Regions from separate parts of the Homo sapiens genome. Here region 2 is linked to region 1. Evidence: promoter capture Hi-C in human tissues and cell types (Jung and others, 2019). All regions are on one chromosome and are shown on one strand. Each heading gives the region's core, a stretch centred on a gene start or on the middle of the fragment in contact. The rest is flanking DNA. Distances are from core to core; before and after follow the strand shown.

Region 1 (4,628 bases), core at 1,739-4,238:
TTTCTGATCTGGCTGAGTTTGGGCCTTGCTTAATTCACACTGTGTTCCAGAAAACACATCAGTGCATCATATTCTGGTCTTTAAGCTTCTGTATAGGCAACATCCTCTGCCTGAAACAAACTACTCTACGAAAGTTAACTCCCAATCAACTTTCAGGTTTCAATGTAAATATCATCTTTCTATTAAAGAGGCCTTTCTTGATCCCACCTCTTGACTCAACACCACCATGAGGACTAATTTAAATATCTATGTGTTCCTATAGCAGCACCCTATGCTTATCACCACCACAGCAATCAACACCGCATTGAAATGTCCTTTTGCAATATCCACGGTCACTTTAAAATGGAAGCATTATGAAAATATATTATCCACCAATATCCCTAGCACTTAGGACAGTGCCTGACACATACAATAAAAGTAGGCAAGCAAATATGTTTATATGTTTGTGTAAATAAACTGCTGTTTGCATTTCCTAGGCATTTAAACATATCCAATGCAGGAATGCTGCCTCTAACTGAAATAGCGTCTGAGGACAAACCAAGACATTAACTTTTCAATATCTGGTGACTAAAAAAAGCCACATTTCTGTTTAACAGTTAAAAGAAAAACACATGCTCCCTTAGCAAATGTGACCCACTCAAATACCTGCTGAAAAGATGTCCATTGCTCTCTTCAACTCTCCTCTTGTTCTCTGATTGCTATTTAAGTCTACAAGCGGAGTTGAAGGATCTCTCATATATTCTAACTCAGTGGCAAACATCCCACCATCAACAAAACGTTCAGGAGCAATATAGCAAGTTCTCCTCCGTGATGTGTCAAAGAAATAATTGAAATCTGCCGGGTTGTCTTCTGGAAGATAAGTGGGCTTAAAACTGGCAAAATCAGTTAGAAGAACCCAATTCCAACTGGTGACCATCACATTCTCAGTCTTGATGTCCCCATGACGAACTCCAGATTTGTGTGCTTGGTCCACAGCTGTCAGGATCTGGAAAGCAATCCAGCGCTTCTCAATGTTATTCAAGAATGGACGGGTACTGATGCGATCATAGAGATTGTCTCGCACATACTGCCTAAAGAGCATAGCTGCTTTCTCAGATGCTTTTTCTGATGCTTTCTGGAAAGGTAGACAATTCTGTGCAGAATTAAGCCTGATTTTCAGTTCCTCCAGCTCTTGTTTATAGCTGGTTAAAGGCAATGTGGGATCCTGAATTGCAAAAACCTTCACAACGACCAGGCCTTCTCGGTGCTTGGCTCGAGCAACTTTAAAAAACCGAGTACTCCCCAGGCTTTTATCATATTCAAAGTCATGAATATCTGAAAAATAACTCTCTACAGAAAGGATCTGGGAGGGAGCAATGCCAGCAAGCTGATTTCCCATAATGGCAAGCACCTCTGTGGTCTTTAGTAAGGTTAGGATATAATACCTGTTTAAAATAAAAACAAATGAAGAAAAAAGACAAGAAACAAAGAAGCTGTGAAACACCATTATTCCATTATTTGGTCTCTTCCAAAAAGACAGATGCAGCATACTTCTCTTCCACTAACAGCACTGTACCTAGCCTTCTGGGGCAGCCTCTAAATTTCACACACATTTATCTAAAAAGACCATGTTATTTTCTCCAAGAAGACCTTGTTATTTTACCTAAAAATACCCTGCTATTGCGCATCGCCATTTCCAGGAGCTGAACTATATTTAGATAGGCCTCTTCAACTTTAAGCCAAAAATGTTAGTTTGTGTTATTTTCTCATATTTAAATTTAAAATATTAATGAGCCTTTACTATGTGTTCCGTGCTGTGCTTGGGGCTATGAGAATTACAAAGTTACCATATGACATAGTTCTTGTCCAAGAATCTGTAGTTTCTTGGAAATAAGAAAGAGACACATTAAAAGCTTAAAACTGGCCGGGCGCGGTGGCTCACGCCTGTAATCCCAGCACTTCGGGAGGCCGAGGCGGGAGGATCACGAGGTCAGGAGCTCAAGACGGGGCTGGCCAACATGGTTAAAATCCCGTCTCTACTAAAAATACAAAAATTAGCCGGGCGTGGTAGTGGGTGCCTGTAATCCCAGCTACTCGTGAGGCTGACGCAGAATTGCTTGAACCCAGGACGCAGAGGTTGCAGTGAGTGGAGATCCCGCCACCGCACTCCAGCCTGGGTGACAGAGCGAGACTCCGTCCGTCTCAAAAAATAAAAAAAAAAAAAGAAAAACTGAAAACTGAAAAGGTCAAACTAAGATCTAAAAATTCAGTTAACTCCTGGACACTTCCTGCCTAATTCCAGTGTGCCCTCTCACCCAGCTAAAAGAAGGTGCAAACTTCGCTGGTCTGCAACAAGAAACCTTGCCACAGATGTTAAAGAAAAGCAGACCAAAGTATACACTAGCTAAACGTACCCCAGGGTTCTGCTAACTCAGGTTTTGCAGGAAATAAATGCCACACATATACACACACGACCTTGAGCACACATAAACATTTACCCTAGGCCTCGGGAAAGTGTCAAAATCGTTCAGAGGCTCACAACGAGGTCATAGTAGACTACTTCGGGGACGGGACGGGAAAACGCGTCAGCAGCGGGGAAGTTGTTTCTACGAAGGGTCTTTCTTCATAGACAGGAGATGGGCTGTTGGTGGAGGGGCGCAGAAAAGTCCCGATCTTCAGGAACCCCGGTGGTCCTGGGAGGAGAACTGGGAAAGCTCTCGGGGTCTCAGCAGAGAGAAGAAGCCACGCTAAAGAGTCTCCACAAGTACCCCGGGATTTGACCCCTCCAGCCCCCTAACCTGCCCTGGGGGACATGCGTTCCCGGGCCTCGTCTTCCTCTAGCGCGGATCGCTACACCCGTCCGAGCCCTCCTCGAGGGCCTCACCACCGGGCGGGGGGAGATGGAACCCGGGAGAGAAGTGCAGACCGCCAGTCCCAAGAAAACACTACACTTCAGCTGCTGCAGCCCCAGCAAACGCCGAACTCCCGGGAAAGCAACCGGTCTGACCTCACTTCCTGTCGCCGAGCGGAAGTGACGAAAAAGAGTGAGCCTTGAGGAATTGCCAGGGTAGGAAACCGGTTGCTAGGAAACTAGGGAAGGCGTGGTCTTACTTTGGGCGAGTCTACAGGGAGAAAATGATGCTCTGACAAAGATCTATTCCCCTTCCTGCTCTTCTACCTTTCATTCACGAACGCTGAGGTTTCTGACATCCCCTAGAATCTGCTCAGACACGCCTTCACTCCCAGGACAGCAGAACAGAGTTAAGAGAACTCAAGAATATTTAGGAAAACTAATATATCCCAAGCTGGATTTTTAGAGTTCTGGTGAGATATAACTTACATACCATAAAGTTCACCTGCTTAAAATGTACAAAGCAGTAGTTTTTAATACATCTATCGAGTTGTGCAATCATCCCTATAATCTGATTTTAATTTTTTTTTTTTTTTTTTTTTTTTTTTTTTTTTTTTTTTTTTTTTTTGAGGCTGAGTCTCGTTCTGTCGCCCAGGCTGGAGTGCAGTGGAGCGATCTCGGCTTACTGCAACCTCCACCTCCCGGGTTCAAGCGATTCTCCTGCCTCAGCCTCCCGAGTAGCTGAGACTACAGGCGCCCGCCACCACGCCCGGCTAATTTTTTTGTATTTTTAGTAGAGGCGGGGTTTCACCGTGTTAGCCAGGTTGGTCTCGATCTCCTGACCTCGTGATCCGCCTGCCTCAGCCTCCCAAAGTGTTGGGATTACAGGCGTGAGCCGCCGCGCCCGGCCTTTTTTTTTTTCTTTTGGAGACAGTCTGGCTCTGTCACCCAGGCTGGAATGCAGTGGTGCCATCTCGGCTTACTGCAAACTCCACCTCCCGGGTTCAAGCGATTCTCATGCCTCTGCCTCCAGAGTAGCTGGGACCACAGGCACGTGCCACCACGCCCAGCTAGGTTTTTGTTTTTTTTTTTTTTGAGACGGAGTCTCGCTCTTGTCGCCCAGGCTGGAGTGCAGTGGCGCGATCTCGGCTCACTGCAAGCTCCGCCTCCCGGGTTCACGCCATTCTTCTGCCTCAGCCTCCCGAGTAGCTAGGACTATAGGCGCCCGCCACCGCGCCGGGCTAATTTTTTGTATTTTTTTTTTAGTAGAGACGGGGTTTCGCCGTGGTCTCGATCTCCTGACCTCGTGATCCACCCGGCCTCTCAAAGTGCTGGGATTACAGGCGTGAGCCACCGCGCCCGGCCGCTAGTTTTTGTATTGTTTGTAGAGATGGGGTTTCACCATGTTGGCCAGGATGGTCTGGATCTCCTGACCTCAAGTGATCCGCCGCCTCGACCTCCCAAAGTGCTGGGATTACAGGTATGAGCCACCGCGCCCAGCCTGCCTGATTTTAAACATTTTCATTACCCCAAAAGGAAACCCTGAAACCATTCGGAGTCACTCCCTGTTCTCCCCCATTTCTCCTCCCCCTTCCAGCCCTAGGCAATCATTAATCTACTTTCTGTTTGTATACACTTGCCTTTTCTGGACATTTTATATATAATATGTGGTCTTTGTGACTGACTTTCACTTTGGGTAATGTTTTTGAGGATTATCCCTATTGTAGCTTGTATTAGTACTTCATTTATTTGTTGTTGCAAATAATTTTGTTTACCCTTTTGTTAGTTAATAGACATT
Region 2 (4,969 bases), core at 2,276-4,775, 1.4 Mb after region 1:
TTTTAGGGAATTACCCACTACCAATGTTTTCATCTGATTCTGCTACCCCCTTGAACTGTATTCTTAACCCTTTTCCACATGAATTTTCCCCCATATAAATTTTATAAAGGATAAAAATTATTATTAAACACTATAATTTATCATGGGACTGCACCTGCCCAAGACAGGATTACTCAACAACTGAAAAAGATACAAACACAACTGGAGACTTGAATTTAAGGTAAAGCATTTTCTAGTTTGAAAATGGGATTTCCAAAGTCCTGGATAGGGAGAGGCTAAGATTTGCCCCTGGGAGGGTACTACCCATCTTCGCCCTTTTAAGAACAACAAAGTGTACAGGCTCTTAAGATCACCCTCACTCATAGTCCAGGATAACAAAGAGATGAGTTACTGCTTCCCAAAGAATGATTTCAGTCTCTACAACTCCACTGAAAGAAGAATTCAGAATTCATTATCTGTAGAAACAATGCTGTACTTGGTGCCTAGATTTTATTAAAATAGTGTTGAGATGCTGAACTTTAGGCACATCAAAGGTTAAGAAGACATTTCTGGGCATTTCACCATCACTCCCAAGAAAACTCATTTCAAGTAGAAGGAGACTTTGAGTAACAAGCAAATGACCTCCAAATAAAAACCCTTAGGGCACAATGTGTTCAGAGAGGGGAGGAGGACACATTCAGATCCTCTAAGTGAGAAAGAAAGCAGAATAGGAATAAAGTGAGAAAAATCATTCCCTAATCATTTGGTGGCTGGTTTTGTTTTTTTGTTTTTGTTTTTGATTTTGTTTTTGTTTTTTTCTGTCCCCTCTGAGCCATGGAAGATACTGGAGTTAACAAAAATTTTATAAACTAAAGAAAGCAACTTTATAATCTAAAAGAAAGCAACTTTCCCTCCTGTCTTTTGAATTCTTATTCCTGAAAGAATGGATAATGAATCAGGAGATGAGCAAAAACGTATCTTTTACAAAGCTCTAGTCTTCCAAAAGTCTCTAAACTCAAACGAAACCTTTTTAAAGTAGTTTTGTAAAAGCTCAAGGTATGCCATTTCCAGAAAGTTGCAGATGAGCACCATTGGCATTACCCAAATTCTGTCACACATTGAGCAATGAAATTCAGGAATTGGACAATGACCTCTTGGCATATGAAAGAATTAAAAGAGGGCTAGGGCTTAGGGCAGGGATCTAATCGGGGAGGATGTGCTGTCCAAGCCTCCCTCCCTCCTCCTTTCCTCGCCTTCAGGTAGATGGAAAGAAAGGTTCAGTCATCTGAGAGAATATCCGATTGTCCTTGAAATTTTTTTCCCTATTGACAAAGCAAGGCATGAATGAATATTCAGTCTGATTAGATCTTCCACTTGACAATGACTGTCATTACCTGGCTAACAAAATAATATACATCTGTGTATGTGAAACCACAATGGCTGATGTTTCAAATTCTTAATACATTATAATCTGGTTGGATTGAGTGGCTAACAATGCCACAATCCCATGAGGTAAACAAAACATTCATCTCTGGATTTCCTCACCTCAGATCTAAGCATCTCCTGTCCATGCAGTACTGAAGATTTTGCACCATCACTTCTGTTTTTCTCATAAATTCTTTATGAGGCTATTAGTCTCTAGGGTGCTCTTCTGAAACCAGAAGGAAATTTGGCTCACACACACACACAAAAAAAGTTGCCATATAAAGGCAACTGCAAAATATAGTGGGAAGTTGGTGGAGGATGGAGTTTCACTGAGAATGGGACAGCAACATGATGGAAAGAACATGAACTTGAATTTCAGTTCTACCACTTACTAGAAAGATGCCTTTGAACAAGTCTCAATTTCTGAATCTTCATTTGTTGCTCTGTAAAATGGGGTCATATTATCTCACAAAGTTGTCACAATAATTAAAATGAGATCTTGTTTTCTAAGTCACCTGACATATATTAAGTGTGAAATCATTTTTCTTTCTCATTTTCTTTTTTATAACGCTCTCATAAATAGTAGGTGTAAGAGTTCTTCCCAGGATGTCTCATCAGAATTCAGAGAGTTACCTTTGCTGTTCCTTCCAGCAAGATCTGCAGTGTATTATTGCAGAGTCAGCTCGTGAAGTATGCATGAACTCTCTCTAAACTGGTGTTTTTAGCCAAGAAACAAACCACTTCATTGTAGGTGCCTGTGAATCAAAAGGGAAGGTTTCCATAGTACTTTTGCCTGTGCCAAATCCATACATCTGCATTTTTCAAGGGAAATTGCTGAAAAGATATTAAGAGAAAAACTTCCCTATACAGATATGTCTGAAATCCCCAAATGCCACCCTAACAAAATCAATATTTTTATGAAATTGACAAAAGTTTAAAAAGAGAATTTTCTTTCTCCTGCAGCTTTCCTTGATTCATGAATTGCAGCATCAAAGAACTTAAACCAGAAAATACACCAAACTGTTGTTGTCACATTGATTCATGGTTGGTTAGATAAAACAAATAATCTTAGCTTTTAGTATCAACATGTCGAAATTTCAATAGCAGTGAAATATTGTCCATTGTTCATTCATTTATTGATTCATAAAATACGTATTGAATGCCTAACTTGGGCCAGGCAGTGTTCCAGGTGCTGGGAATAAAACAATGAATAGACAGGCAAATCATTCCTGCATTAATGGAGTTTAACAGTCTAGTGAGGAAAGAGATAATAAACATGTAAACGAATAAATAAATGGTATAATTTCAGAGAATAAATACTATGAGAAAATATAACAAGATAACGCAGTTCCCTGGAAGTCAGCACTCAGACATTCTGAGACAATATTGCTTGAGCAGAAAGCTGAAGAACAAAATAGAGTCATAAAAAAATTAGAAGATAAAGCGGTCAGCCAAATGGAACAGCAAATGCCAAGGCCATAAGGCAGGAGCCAGGTAAGCATGTTTAGGGGCAAAAAGAAGGCTACTATACCTGGGCAATAAGGTCAGAGAGGAGGTGGGCTGTGCATCTCAAACCTGATTGTGAATAAAAATCACCTGGAAATCTTGTTAAAATGCAGAATCTAATGGGGGTGGGATGCTGAGATTCTACATTTCTAAAAAGCTACCAGGTGATGCTGACACTGCTAGTTCATAGAGCTCACTTTGAGTAGCAAGGACATAGGGCCTTGCACACCATGGGAAAATGAATTTCCTGCGAGTTGAAATAGAAGGCCACACTTATCTGATGCCTTTACACCTAGAAAGCCCTTCTCAGTTACACAAAGGTCTCATTACCCTTTGGCATTTCCACACACCCACTACAAAACTAAGTACTTGATAAATGCACCATAAATGCCTGCATTCAATGATAAGGCTAATGATCTAGATCCTGCTTTGTGGTTTGCCTAGTATTGGAAAGAGTAGCAAAAATAATGATGTAATGGGGTGAAGCAAAAAGTGGTGAGTGAATGGAAAGACTTTAGATGGGCTTTGAATCATATTTCTGGGTTCAAATTCTACATTACCATCTACAAGGTCTTTGGCAAATTGTTCAACTTCTCTGAGCCTTTATTTTCTCATTTAAAAATAGAAATAATATCCACTTCATCAGGGAGATGTGAAAATCACATGCAATAGTAAAGTGGAAGTTTCTTGCAATAGTAGATGCTCCATAAATGTTTATTCTCTTTTTCTCTTCTTTCCAAGGTCCACCTGACTGTCAACACGATGACATTTGTATCAAATAGCATCACGAATCTGTGAATTTTGTAGAGCACAACTGATTTCCAAATTAGGAATTCAGGGCCCACATCCATGTGAAGCAACTGATTATTCCTATAGCACTTGCTTATTGCTGCTTTAAAGAAAACCTAGATTCTAGCCCTTATTCTAAACTAACCTGCTGGACAATCTTTGGTAAGTCCCTTGTCCATCTATGGACCTTAGTTCATCTGTTAAATGAAAGAGTTGGAGTAGATGGTCCTGCCCAACCTTGGCATCTTCTGACTGTGATTAACTTGGTGAGAGTTCTGAAAGTGGACTTGTTTTCCAGAAAACATAGCAGAATCCTTGTAGCTGAGATATTTGGGTGATGAGATTCAAATTCATGAAGAAGACAGGATGAAACCCTTGTATATTAACCTTGGCCAGCAAATATCCTCATTCCTTTCTCTCCAATCCCATTATTGCAGGGACTAGAGTGCCAGAAATATTATCTTATTCTCACTGGATCTTTCATATTTTTAAAAGCAACTGACATCACAGGAAAAACTTGAGAACAAGACTTAATGGAATCAAATGTGCACTTCTCTGTTATTTTACTTTGTCACATAATAATGTTATAACCCTTTATTTTCAAAAATATCTTTGAGATGAAAACAAATCTATAAAATTGCTAGTATTTTTAAAACTTGAAAAAGTTTAAGGAGGATGTTTATGGCTTTATATCTGTTCTGGTCTTCAACCATCTACTCCTCCAATCCTCCCTCACCCCAGTTTAGGGTTTTTTAAGGTTTTTGTTTGTCTGCTTGGTTTTTATTATTGTTTTTACAATTAAATAAAATAAAAATTAAAATAACCCCAACAGCAAATATCTTCAGATGCTAGAGGATTACAACTCCTGAGAGGCTTAGGTTGAAAAAGGAACTAATGCATCTTGTCTAAAGGTGTATATTTGAGATAAATCGTTTTCCAATGAATACTTAGAAATAAGCAGAGATTATTTCTTAAAAGGTCAGGTGCTTCATCTCAACAGAATGTTTTTCCACCTCTTTCAGAGGAGACCACTTACTTTCAGATATATCAACAAAAGTGCCCCTTCCCTTAGACCTAGCCAAAATGAAGAATCTCTTTATAGCTTTATTTACTCTCTGCCTTTGAGAGTTTTGCTGTTTGCCTTCTTTATCCTGATGCTTTGAAGGCTTGGAGTATTGAATAAATGGAGAAAAGATCTAAGAACCAAGTAATGGAGACACACAGTTCAGTTTCAGAGAGCTCACGGCAACCACAGAACACACGATGATTA

What was found. Contacts are between HindIII fragments. The study calls those that stand out against the background at their distance.
Region 2: a fragment that was not itself captured here is called in contact with the fragment with the promoter of PIK3R4 in region 1 in 1 of the 25 tissues and cell types used here (dorsolateral prefrontal cortex).

Annotation. Positions count from the first base shown.
Region 1 is chr3:130,743,841-130,748,468 of GRCh38, forward strand. It overlaps PIK3R4 (phosphoinositide-3-kinase regulatory subunit 4), which reads right to left and starts at 2,989. Exons shown (of 20, transcript NM_014602.3): 1 at 2,478-2,989; 2 at 646-1,424. The coding sequence starts at 1,378. RefSeq lists an enhancer at 2,670-2,729 and a silencer at 3,964-4,013. The HindIII fragment of the contact is 7,513 bases long and covers 989-4,628 here.
Region 2 is chr3:132,166,940-132,171,908 of GRCh38, forward strand. No RefSeq gene overlaps it. Among named protein-coding and RNA genes, the nearest start is that of TRC-GCA6-1, 60 kb to the right of the region's middle. The HindIII fragment of the contact is 7,011 bases long and covers 21-4,969 here.